Regions from separate parts of the Homo sapiens genome. Here region 2 is linked to region 1. Evidence: promoter capture Hi-C in 16 types of primary human blood cells and fetal thymus (Javierre and others, 2016). All regions are on one chromosome and are shown on one strand. The core of a region is centred on a gene start or on the middle of the fragment in contact, and the rest is flanking DNA. Distances in the headings are between cores, read along the strand shown.

Evidence for each region. The method cuts DNA at HindIII sites, captures the fragments that hold promoters and counts their contacts. A CHiCAGO score of 5 or more calls a contact.
Region 2: a fragment that was not itself captured here is called in contact with the fragment with the promoter of KIF21A in region 1 in 1 of 17 cell types (non-activated CD4 T cells); the score reaches 6.3 in non-activated CD4 T cells.

The regions. Positions count from the first base shown.
Region 1 is chr12:39,438,682-39,445,457 of GRCh38, reverse strand. KIF21A (kinesin family member 21A) reads left to right here and starts at 2,338. Exons shown (of 38, transcript NM_001173464.2): 1 at 2,338-2,531. The coding sequence starts at 2,488. RefSeq lists enhancers at 1,668-1,727, 2,009-2,509, 3,328-3,397 and a silencer at 1,808-2,707. The HindIII fragment of the contact is 8,179 bases long and covers 1,826-6,776 here.
Region 2 is chr12:40,028,280-40,035,055 of GRCh38, reverse strand. SLC2A13 (solute carrier family 2 member 13) reads left to right here. Exons shown (of 10, transcript NM_052885.4): 3 at 6,547-6,755. Among named protein-coding and RNA genes, the nearest start is that of SLC2A13, 74 kb to the left of the region's middle. RefSeq lists an enhancer at 5,634-6,776. The HindIII fragment of the contact is 2,688 bases long and covers 1,337-4,024 here.

The sequences.
Region 1 (6,776 bases), core at 1,089-3,588:
TTTGTGACTCCCCTTACTGAGACATATATGTATACTATTGTTATTTAAAATGAGAACTTTTTTTGGCCAGGTGAGGTAGCTCATGCCTGTAATCCCAGCACTTTGGGAGGCTGAGGTGGGCGGATCACTTGAGGTCAGGAGTTTGAGACCAGCCTGGTAAACATGGTGAAATCCCATCTCTACTAAAAATACAAAAATTACCTGGATGTGTTGGCACATGCCTGAAATCCCAGCTACTCCGGAGGCTGAGGCACGAGAATCCCTTGAACCCCGGAGGAGGATGTCGATGTCGCAGTGAGCTGAGATCACACCATTGCATTCCAGCCTGGATGACAGAGCGAGACACTGTCTCAAAAAATAAAATAGGCTGGGTGTGGTGGCTCATGCCTGTAATCCCAGCACTTTGGGAGGCCGAGGCGGGTGGATCACAAGGTCAGGAGTTCAAGACCAGCCTGGCCAATACGGTGAAACTCTGTCTCTACTAAAAATACAAAAATTAGCTGGGCATGGTGGCACACGCCTGTAGTCCCAGCTACTCAGGAGGCTGAGGCAGAAGAATCGCTTGAACCCGGGAGGCAGAGGTTACAGTGAGCCGAGATCACGCCACTGCACTCCAGCCTGGTGACAGAGCAAGACTTTGTCTCAAAATAAAATAAAATAAAAAAGAACTTTTTTTAAAAAGAGGGTCTTAATTATACAAATTTCTCTTTAGTTTTCTTGTTAAATGTGCTGGGCCATTCTTGCTTTCCTTGCAGCTTTCATCAACAAAAGAAGCAAGGTGGCCAGCCCAGATCCACCCAGATATGGGCTTGCCAGGGCAGGGTGAAATGCAGCTCTGATTTGTTGATGGATAAATTTTGAGGCTAGGAAAGGCCCTCCAAAGAGTAGCCAGAGGAGAGCTTTCCCACCAATTTGATCTATAGAAGGATACTCAGCATCTCTGCCCTCTTTACCTCCCAGTTACATGTCTGTTAAGATTTAGGGGTAGTGAGATTAAGGGACAGAATAAATTTAAAACTATCTATAATTATATACCCCATCGGCCTTCCCATGGGTTTAAATCATCAAACACTTCTTGTTTTTCCCATAGTGTTGCAGCCTTCTCTGAGCCACACTGCTGTATCACTGCTGAACAAGATGATTAGGTATGTGATTGTAGATTGCAGGCATTTGAGGTAGTGCCTTTATTTGGATAGTGCCATTTAATTTGTGATACTATTTCGTATGAAGCCACATGTTTGTTTATAGAGATGTATGGAGCAGTCCACAAAAGATACTCTGTGGCAAAGCTAATAAAGGCTGTTTCCACAGAGCTATCTGAAGGCATGTGGAAGCACAATAGTGACAAACAGAAACCACAATGGGTCAATGTTGAGAGAATCCTGGGATTGGGAGGTGCTTTTTAAAGGCCAGAAGGGAAAGAAAATCAGTTTGGAAGGATTTACTACACAGCAGGTCTTGGTGGATATATTCAGTTCTGGGAACACTTGGCAGTACCAGGGTGCAGTTCATTTACCAGTGTACAAATGATTGAACAGAAAAGCATTCAGGAGTCTCGAATAAATCATTTCCATATCCCACCCGAGCTGGTAAACGGGCGATGAACTGTAGAACAGCCCAGCTGTCCAGAGACAGTGGACAAACCTGGGAGTCCGTTTAGCATGAATGACTGACTCCGGGGAGGGAGGAGGGAGGGCGTTCAGCTGGGGGCTAGGGAAGGGGGTCAAAGTCCAAGCTGCAGAGAGGACAATAAGGCTATGCGTGGGACACAAAGCCGAACCGCAGCAGCAGCTGCCTGGCTCCCGGCGCGCCGCTGAATCAAGCTTCGATTTGAGAAGGGACCTGGCAGCAGCGCGTGCACTAGCTGCTTCCTTCTCCCAGAAGAGCCTGGAAGGGCGCACAGGCTGGTCGCCCTCGGGCGAGGGCAGCCGGCGGCAGGCATCCCTCCCCCTCGCCTCCCTGCCCAGCAGCGCCAGGCAGTGTCCCGACGAGGGCAGGGCGGGGCGCAGGCTGGGGGAGGGCGAGGTGGGGCTGAGCCGCGCGGCGGCGGCTGACGCAGTGCGGGGCGAGGAGCCCGGAGCGCCCTGGCGGGCGTGGAGTCCCCAGCCTGGCCGCTGGGAGGCCGCGTCCCCACCGGAGGGGGCAGGGCGCACTCACCCGGCCGCCCTGAGGCCGCTGGCGGCCTGTTGGCTTCTCCACAGGCGCGCTCGCCGTTCAAGCGCGCTTTGTCCCCGCCCCAGATCCTGGGGGGTGAGCGGTGGAGAAGGGGCGGGCGCCCGCGAGCCGTGAATCACCTCCTCCTCTTGCTGCCTCAGCGCCGCCGCCACCTTTCCATTCAGTCGCCCAACATGGCTGGAGCGCGGCGGAGGTGAGCCGGCCGCCCGCCCGCAGACGCCCCAGCCTACTGCGCCCGAGTCCCGCGGCCCCAGTGGCGCCTCAGCTCTGCGGTGCCGAGGCCCAACGGCTCGATCGCTGCCCGCCGCCAGCATGTTGGGCGCCCCGGACGAGAGCTCCGTGCGGGTGGCTGTCAGGTGAGGACAGTCTGCCGGCGGCGGGCGGCGGGCGGCGGGTTGAGGGCGCGGCAAGGACCTGGCTGTGGCGCGGAGCACCGGCTACCGGGGTGGAGCGACCTGAGGGGCGTCCCGGCCGGGTTCTGCGGCTGAGGAAACTGAGGCAGTGAGTCCCCGCTGGCCTGGCACGCGCGGCCGGGTGCTGGCAGGGCGACTGCGCCGCCCTCACGCCGTCTGTGTTTGCAGGTGGCTGGCGGCTGCGCGGCGCCGGGTCCCTGGGGGGCGTCTTGACTTCTCTGGGGGAAAAGCCCTCGTCACTCCCCTCCGTCCCCTCGCGGGATCAGTCACCTCAGGTCTGGCCGCCTTGGGCTATCGCCTGTCCGGGAGGAGCTGCCTGTGCGCGGGGCTGTGGTGTTCTTTTTTATTAGTTCTAGAATGTCTGTCATACGTGTCCATGCAGCTCCGGCCTTCCCAGGCAGGAGACAAAGCATCTGACTATCAGCGCCGGCGACCGCAGGGCCCGCCGCGCGCCCACTCGGGTTCTGATGTCTGTGCAAATGAGACATCTTTTTCAGCATCACGGGGATCTAGACATGCCCCCGCGTGTGGGTAGAGGAGACAGATCTAGCCTCTTGGGTGTTGGAATGGGAGTGGAATTTAAGGTAAAATCCACTGGGGAGAGGTCTACAGAAGGAGGAAAACTCTTTAGCCAGAGGAAGGGTGAAATGGGTGACTGTGTGAAACATACTGACATTAGGCAGGGTGGATACAATGTAATCGTAACGTTACCCAGGCCAGGGTGTGAGTCTGGAAATACTAGGTACATCCTAGTATTGAAATTATATTTCGGCCAATGACAGGCACGAGTATTCGATGTAATTTCGGCTGTTTTGATACTTATCAAGAAGGAAAGCTCTGATAGTTGCTCATGGAAAATTGCAACATCATCACACTGTGTGAAAAATTAATGAAGCATTCATCCTAGAGTAAGTGCGTGGCTTTCACAGCTCTGAGAGTCTACTGTTAATTCACTTCTCCTTATTTATGCTTTAAGGATTATAAAAATAATCTACACTCCAAGGAATTAGGAACTATTAACAATCTCCCAGTCTTGTAGTCTTTCCAGAAAATTATTCTAAAAATTCTCCCCTCTAAACATTTCTATAGTTACTATTTTAGTGACACATCTTGGGTCAGGCATAGTAATGGCTGTTTCGTATACTTTGTATCTTTAATTAACTTAAATAATAAAATGAGTTTTTAAGTGTTTTTTTTTTTTTTTTTTTTACCACCCAGGGAGGTGACAGTTTTATGACTGGTTAGAATCACCTGTTATAAGGCTTTTGAAGTTTTAATTAGGCCTTCTTCGTTATTCTAGGGCTACTTATCCAATTGTTAGATTAGTCTGTTTCTCCTATTCACTGCTACTACCTCTCTTTTGGCCCTTTAATACCAGTTAATGACTGCACCAGGGTGGAGAAAGGGGAAGGAAAAAGACAGAAAACCCAATAAGAGGCAATTTTGTTAGGAGATCTGATCAAGGAAAGTGAAGAAGGTGCATAAAATATTACTGAAAACAGACAATTTGTCTGTTTTTAGACGTTTGAGATTTTTATATGTGAATTCTCTAGACTATCACAAGGCAGTTTGTTGACCATTCTGTTAAATCCGATGCTTCTTTGCCTGTAGAGCCATGGATGACCCTAAAGTGATGCTGACTGATAAATAACTTGTATTTTGTTTTGGTGTGTATGTTAGGACTTTTTAGGTGAATGAATGTGGGTTTGATTTTTGGGGAAAGGCTTTATAAAAACTTCAACATAACTTAGTAAGCCATATTGTAAAGATTCAATTTGTTGAATTCAGGATTCCTTCCTTCCTTCCTTCTTTCCTTTCTCTTTCTCTCTTCTTTCCTTTCTTCTTTCTTTTTTTTGAGATAGGGTTTTGCTGTGTCACCCAGGCTAGAGTGTCGTGGTGCCATCATAGCTCACTGCAGCCTCAACCTCATGGGCTCAAGCAATCCTCTAATCTCAGCCTGCTGAGTAGCTGAGATCACAGGCATGTGCCACACTGCTTGGCTAATTTTTATACATTTTTGTAGATATGGGGCCTCCCTATGTTTCCCAGAGTGGTCTTGTACTCCTGGGCTCAAGCCGTCCCTCCCAAATTGCTGGGATTACAGGCATTAGCCACTGCGCCTGGATAAATCGGGGATTTCTTTCATTAAATACATTGTTCTCTGAACAGAGCTACCTTGTAAACTTACTTTATATAGGATAAAAATAGCTTATACTCATATAGCACTTTAGTATTTATAAAGTGTTTGGACTTATATTGTTCATTTATAACCATTATTTATTGAAGATATATACCCGTCTCTGTTATCCTGATTTCTGGGCTAAAAGTAGTGATAATTGTTTGACTTATACTGTGTGCCGGGATTAGTGCTGTGTTAAGATGTTTTATCTCATGTAAAGTCTTATTTATTCCTCATAACAATCTGTGACTTAGGTCCTGTTATTATGGCCATTTACAGATGAGGCACAGAAAGATTAAGTAAACCATCCAAAGTTAAATTGGTAACAAATGAGAGAGCCAGGGTTCCAACCCAGATAGCTTGACTCAGTAGCCCAAGTTCTTAACCATTAACCCTGCGGAAGTGAGAGGCAAGAACATGGCTTTGCAAAGTTTCACTTAGCTTTGGGTCAGTTGCCTGTTCTTGATTTTGTATTAGTTCATTTACAAATGAGTGGCTTTCACAGGTTATTCATATTTTGATATTGCTAGAAAAGATAGAACTAAGACAGGACCTGAACTTACTAAAATATTTCCTCAAATTATTTAATCTTTCCAGCTTCCTGTTACCCTACCCTTCAGTTTGAGAAGGGTTCCTCAGCAGAATAAATAAATCAATACAAAATCGTGTGTCTATATACAAAATCAAAAGCATTTGACCTGCTTTTTTTCCTTTAATGAATAATATAATTGTGGAAATGCATCCTAGAGGTGCTTATGTTTTATTAGAGGTTTATTAGTATGTTAAAGCTGATGACTCTATTGTAGATTTCTCAAGATAAGGAAATGGGTCATTTAAGGCTTTGGGAGAAAGATGTTAAACAGAAAGATTCTCATTTAGGGAGAACAATTTTTATTCAATTTCCAAAAATACCTTTTTACAGTATATTTGAGATGTTCTGTGGGGTTTCTTTCAGTGAGATAGATATGGATTTGGATAACAGCCCTTGCTATCCAACCCCATGTGGCTATTAAGCGCTTGAATTATGATTAATGCTAATGAGGAACTAAATTTTTAATTTAATTTAAATGAGTTAAAATTTAAATTTAAAAACTGGTCCTTCATCCAGTTATCATAAACTTTTAAGTATGTTTTGAACAACTTGGATCTACTTTTTCAGCTGTAAAGTTTTGAAATCGAAGTAGTGATACAAGTATTTCTGATGAAAATTTAGTGTACGTATTGACTAGAACTGTAAGTGTAATAGATATACATTGGCTTTCAAAGGCTTACTCTGAAGAAACGAATGTAAATATTTCAATTCTTATATTGACTGTATGTTGAAATGATAATACTTTGCTTACATTGAGTTAAATAAAATATAATTAAAATTAACTTTCACATTGTATGTGTCCATTGGATACCACTGCACTATAACTTAAAAATGTGAGGAATACATTTAGAATAAAACTTTTCACAGACACCCCATCATGGACTAATCACATCCTTCGATTAAGAAAATACTAAAATATTGGGTATCTGGTTTTAGAGTGGATATGCATGTACGCACACAAGTATATATATACATGTAAGATGTAAGATGTGATTCAACAGCAACACTTTTTTTCCTCTGAGTGCATGGGTGTAGGAAGGTATGGATTTTGACTCAATAATCAGGTAGCTGTTTTCCTAGGAAATGTGGTAAGTTGAATGGATGGCTTAGATAGATGTCGCCAACAAAAATGAACAATAAAGTACAATGTAGAATCTATTCTTATTATCTAAGTATACTGAATTGAACCAAACAGTTAACTCAAAAAGATAAAGTCAAACATTTCACATTCTAAATCTAATACATTATGAGAGGATGTGTTCCTTTCTCTTCCTTATCTCTTCTGACACGATAACTTTGAAATGTTTTTCCTTTCCAAGAACTTTAGTTTGCAAAATATGTCAAGAGTTTGGTGAAAATGGGAGATACAGAAAGGACCTTTGTGTTTTTATGTTATTCTCTGTATATAGAAACTAAA
Region 2 (6,776 bases), core at 1,431-3,930, 590 kb before region 1:
TTGAAGGGGTTTGAGTTATGCTTTTTTAAGGGGAAAATGTTTCACTGTCCTGTTTATCATTGGAAAGTTCCAGCTCGGGGGGATGCCATCTCTGGGTAAGTTTATTCATGATGCTCAGTGATTAGCTGTAGTGCTTGGCATTTAACATACATTCAGGAGATATTTGCTGGGTAAATAGCTGAGTAACAGCTCAGAGAAATCACAAGGCTTAGCTTTCCAAGCAAACACAATACATCTTCATTAGTTAGTGTTTTCAAAGAATCTATTGATTCTAATTGCTAACCCTTTTTATTTTCCGTGAACTAATGCAGGAAAAAAAGATTTTGAGTTTATTTTATAGTTATTTGTGAAAGAATACCAACTTGAAGCTATAGAATTTTAAAGAATACATCATCTTAATATTTATAATATTCCTCTGAGCTATTCAGAATGGGCTAACATGGACATGATTTGTTAATCAATAGCAAAAGTGCAAGCCAGAAGACAGAGTGGAAATAAAACTTAATTGGAATTACAGATACAGTTTTTTCATTTCCTTTTTTTAGTTTAAGACAGTATTGGATATTATTAGAGAATTTGCTAGAAAGCCCCACTGTACTCAGGATGACATTTCAGAGATTGTCAGTGAGCCAATCTTAGTGTTTCAGAAAGTATCAAGATTAACTGTGACTAAAAAGTATGAGGTGGTTATTTTGCTTGGAACCACAGTTTTGACAACATGAAGTTGGGAAACCAGTAAGGAAGTGATAGTTGACCTGTACCTTAATGCTTTCATGGCCTGTTGGGAGGATAATTGACTAAATGAGTATGGTGTCTGAAAACCTTTACTGTGCCTCTCAAAGTGAAAAGTGTCTTCTCTTAGTAGAATTCAGCTCCTCAAGGGCTACAAAAACAATTGCATGTTTTTAAAAAATACAATGTAGTGTAATAAACTTCCCTTAACTAGGATAGTTTTTCCATTACAGCTTGACTTAAAATGAAAACCACAGATCATATAGATCTTCCAGTGTAAGGCATTGGCAACTTTTTCATGTCATTTGGGTTAAGGAGGAACAGGAACATAGGGGAGAAGGGAAAGAAACAGAGCACAAATGCGGGATGCAGTTGTTCACTCCTGTACAATTTCTTCAGGAGGAGTGAGGCTTGGGGAAACCTTTGGGATGCAGAGATTGAAAAATAAAGAGAAAGCAACTTTCGATCTATCATATTCATCATAGAAAATATTTTCAAAGGATCAAATCCTTTAAAATCTTGCAGTCGAATATTTTTGCTCCTAATGGTTTTTTTTAAAAATACCTACCTTCTTGTTATCCAAATTTTTCCTGTATGAAAAGCTTACTAGTGTATGTTAAAGAAACATTAAATAAAACTTTAGTTTGGCACAGTGGTCAAAAGAAGCAGTACAAATTTACCCTTTACACATGAGGTATTTTAACTAGTAGTCAGCTATTTTAACAGTAATGCTCTTAGGGAGTTTTGATTTAGTAAGGATAGGTGTTGAGAAAATCACAGGATATTCCATTTCCTCCTAGCAGTTCTGTGTTATTTAAATCCAGCTTGCAGTTACCCAGCCCAGTGGGTGGTACTGTGTTGGGCACCTGTGCTGGGCACAATTAGGAGTGACAGCTCCCAGCCAGCCAGCTTTGCTTTTGCTTTTGCTTTGTTATTTCTGCAGTGTTTTACTGCATTTAACAGAGGTGAGGGAATAATACTTCCAAAGGGAACCTCTGAATTCTTTAAACATGAAGCTAAGGTAAATTAATGCACTTTTTAATGTGTTCTACAGAATTAATTATCAAGTAATTATTGAACAGTTAATATAGCTTGACTTACAATAAACATTTATTGTAGGAGCCAGACTTCCTGGATTTTAACTGTAGTTCTGTTGCATACTAACCATGTATCTTCTTTGTGCCTCATTGCTTTGTCTATAAAGTGGGGATAATAATGGCACTCGCCTCATAGGGTTGTTGTGAAATCATGGGAGTAAATGTTTCCTAACTGTTCTGAACAGTGCTTGGCACACGGTAACTGGTGCTACACATTAGCTGTTACTATTGCTATTAGTATTGTTGTTACTAAACAATTACATGTCTATGCTGAGATTGTGCATTCAACTAGATTTTCACATATTTGGAACATAATCATCACACCTCTGGAACTACGAAAGAGCAGATAACATGCTAACTCATGTTATCAGTTCAGAGAGGAGGTCAATGATCGTGAAGTGCAAAATTCTGTAACTTAAGGAAGCAGATATGAGAGGATTATTGTCGTTAGTTACATAGGTGAGAGCAGCAGGATTGCTTTAAAACAGGAATGAGAGTGAATGTTTAGTTCAGTGAAGAACCTGTTTGGTTTGTTGTGAGGCCCCTGGCCATCTGATGGAAGAGACAGCAGGCTTGCTCAGCTGAGCCATAGCAGGAGGTCTGGCCCCAGGAATGCAGGATCCACCATTCACAGAGCTTCCATCTCTGGAATTGAGAAGGCTTAACCTGAGGTGAAATTGGTGGGATTGTTCTTTGTTGACAGCTGGCCTAACCTTGTCTTTTGGAAGTATTCCTCTGCCTTTAAATGGCCTGCTTTGGTAGGCAGGTGCTGGTACTGCTAGCTGTGCCAGAAAATAGTTCATTTTGTAACTGTAAGTTTAGAAAATTTTAAATCTTTAGATGAGTGATCATGATGGTAAAGAACATACTAAAGATTTAAAAACTCATGAGAGCTTGGCATGTCTGCTTGACTGTGTGTTTGTCTGGTGCGCTTGCTTGTCCGTAGAAGGTAAATGGCTTTTGCCGTAAGGTGTGGACCTTGGGTGCTTGTTGTTCATGTTTACCCTGGGTTTTAAAAACATTTAGATCCTTGGTTCTCAGCCACAACTGCACATTAGCACCACCTGGAGAGCTTTTAATAAAACAACTCCCTGGGCCCAGAGTCCAGATCAATTAATCAAAATCCCTGGGGAAGGGTGGGGCCTGGAAACTGGTGGGTTTTACCAGCCTCCTAGGTGATTCTAATGTGAAGCCAGGTTTAGAAACCCTGACTTAATTTAGAATAATGAGATCTCTTGTATCAATAGGAGACTACTTGCTTTTCTGGGGACTGCCTGCCCCAGTGTATCACAATACTCTGTCATTCATCTAATTCCTGCTTTCCTTGGATTTAGAGGACTGGTAGTCCTACTACTGCCTTAGTTTAGTTTATGAAGAGCCTTCTCTTTTTGTCTCATGTTGAAATTTTTATTAGTACCACAGCAAAACAGCCTCTTATTTATCTTTCCTATTCTCCAGTCTGCACATCGTTAGAGGAATGTTTTTCTTAAGAAAGAAATTGGTTAGTTGTACCTGCTGAAAATTTAGTTGGGTGATACAGCCAGAACAAACACGTTACAGTGAATTGATTGCGTGGTTAGGAGTTCAGGGAGGTGAAACATTTTTTCCGAGCATCCTCTCTGCCTTGGTGAATGATTTCACTTAATTCCCCCAGCAGTCTTATGAAATAGATACTGTCACCTGTGTGTTAAAATGTTAAGTAACTTGGCCGAAAGCAGTGGCGCGTGCCTGTAATCCCAGCACTTTGGGAGGCCAAGGTGGGCGGATCACAAGATCAGGAGTTTGAGACCAGCCTGGCTGATATTTTGAAACCCTGTTTCTACTAAAAATACAAAAATTAGCCAGGCGTGGTGGCACGCACCTGTAGTCCCAGCTACTCAGGAGGCTGAGGTAGGAGAATTGCTTGAACCCGGGAGGCGGAGGTTGCAGTGAGCCGAGATCGCGCCACTACACTCCGGCCTGGGCAACAGAGTGAGACTCCATCTAAAAAAATAAATAAATAAATAAAATGGTGTAAGTAACTTGACCAGGTTCTTGTGGTTTGTATGCCCGGAGCTGAAGTGACACCCACATCCATTCCTGTGTCCTCTCTGTCATATAAGCTCTGATCTTGTGTATTGCATTTCTTCAAAGCCATGAAAATTATTCATATCAAAATATTTTCATCGTGAAAGGTAATTAAAACAAAATAAGCTTTCTCATTTTACTTTTAGAAGTATTAGGATACAAACGTATAAAACATTTTTTTATTGACTAATCTCTAGAAAGAAGCTTTAATATGCTTAAGGATTGGCAGGAGGGTACAAATTCCTTTTCCACACGTTAGGGCAACGGAATTGTACATTTCGGACCCAGACTCTTGCACAGATTTCAAAAGGTGGGAAGGCCTATTCTGTCTTCTGTAGCTCACTTAAGAAACACAGGCTAATATATATGTCTGTATTTTCCTTTTCTTTTTGTCTTCTCTTTTCTCTTCTCTTCTCTTCCCTTGTCTTTTTTTCTGTTTAAAAAAAAACTTGTAAAAATACTGCATCCTGGGATTTAATAGCAAGTAGCAGAGTGCAAAATATTATGTGAGCATCTTGGACCTGAAAATGATTCAGTTTCTACATTCATTTCAGTGCTTTTTGAAGTATTATCTGCTGCTTTTCTATCTTAATTCATGATCTTTCTTTGGAAAGATCATGAGAAGTGTAGATAAATGAAACATAAAGGCTTTCACCTTTAGGACTTTTAAAATTTATTTCCTAATCCAGTATATTTAGGGTCTACCTTGAAAAATCCCTTTTAAATAATGAGCAATATAGTATAAACATGTCTTTGACACAGCTCAGATGGAAGTTTTATTGATTTACAGCAATAAAACATACATTTAAATAACAGATTAAATTATACCAGTTAACATCTTAAGGGGAAGAGGCCAGAAGTACATATTTTTGTGAGCTGATCTCTGTAGCTCTCATCCGAGGACTCTTCCAGAAGAGACGGTCCAGTTATATCTAGAATAATGAATGGTTTGGTTGGAAGGAATTACTGAGCAAGTAAATTTGCAGAGCTAAATGACCCAGAAGAGTTGTTACCTAAGATATTGTCATATAAATCCAAAGCACAGTTATTTTCTGGTTAGTTAATGTAGAAAGTTTAGATATACAGGTGCTTATGTGTTATTTCATAAAATATGTACTCAATGCCTACTGTGTGCAAGTTAACTAAATGCTATGTTGAATACAAAGTTAAATAATATTAAGCAATTGATTGGGATAGCTAAATAATGTATTATAATACAAGATACAAAGACATAAATTAAGGTTAAACTGTGTGCTCTGTGGGTGAGCAGAGGCAGGAGTGACTAAATATTGGTGTAATTATCACAATCCATGGCCTAAAGCGTAAGACACCTCCAATAAGATTTAACACTGCAGGCCAACTGATTCATTTAGCCATTCATTCATAAATAGTTTATTTACTTTCCATATCCTGGTTAATTTTTCTGTTTCCATGTGTAGTTTAAGTTTGTAATTTGTAGTAGGAGGTATTCTTACTACCCATGTAATAATCATATTTTTTCTTCTACTGGTTTTTTAATTAAAATGAAATTGCTTGGAAAATAGCAGACTTATTTTGTGAGATTTATCTCTGGAGCCTTTAAGGCTACTATCAGTTTAGCATAGCTTAAAAGGTAGAATAGCTTTGAAAAATATATTGAGCCAAGTGACTTCCATGACTTATGCATATCAGTGTGGTTTGTTATAGAAATAGAATTGGCCTCCTGAGCTCTATTGTTAGGAATCTACCCTAGAACATACCTAGAGAAGTTGGATTAACAGAAAACATTCAGGTATCGTAGATGCATGGAAGTTTCCATTTGAAAGACAGCTTAAATTTTATCTAATTCAGCCCCTTTGGTTCAAAAAGATGGAGGCCTTAGAGATGTTAGGAAATCAGTCTGGTGATCATAATTTGGAGAGATCTTTGATATAGATATACTCATTACTATTTTTGTTATTTCTTGGAGGGAGTTAAAATGATATTGTTGTTTGCTATTTTGAATTTTGCCAGCCATTAAGAATAGATATTTAAAGAGATAACAGTTAACTTACAACAACATGAGCAGATTTTTATTAGGATTATTGATTTCTGACTCCATCTTTTTTTTTCCTGTGGGCCCCCATTCCTCAGTTAATGATGATGAACATGATGCTTGATGGCAAAATGAAATAGGAAAATTGTAACAACAAAATTATAACTAATGATTCACAAGTCAGAAATAACTATAAAGAAACAAATTTGGGCACTTATTTTAATGAAAAGTGTGCCTTTTAAGCAGATATCAGAAAGTTTTATCGTAGCCCCATTTTATATTGTAAAATACAAAATTACATATGTTAGCCTTACATAGGAATGGTGATTATGATGTTTTGCTTAATATATTTGGGTTAGAATGTGTATACATAATGACTGTAGCTTTTGCTCATTCTTTTTCAATGTAATTTGTGGGAAAGGTAGAGAAATAATTAGATTTTTCTCATTTTTTAATTTTCAGTGCAGCACAAAAATATCCTTTTTTCCTAGTGACAGACACACACATAAATGCACAAATAATTCTGGCTAACTTCACAGTAAGTATTATTGTTGTCAACACAACACAAAAGTATGTGGTGAGCACATGATGGTAAGAGCAAATTTTACAGTAAATGTGGATTTTTTTTCTTTGCAGGTACATGTTGGGACTTGCAGCAGTTCCGGCGGTTATACAGTTTTTTGGCTTTCTCTTTTTGCCTGAAAGCCCTCGATGGCTTATTCAGAAAGGACAGACTCAGAAGGCCCGTAGAATTTTATCTCAGATGCGTGGTAACCAGACCATTGATGAGGAATATGATAGCATCAAAAACAACATTGAAGAGGAGGAAAAAGAGGTTGGCTCAGGTATATAGACTTTATACTTAT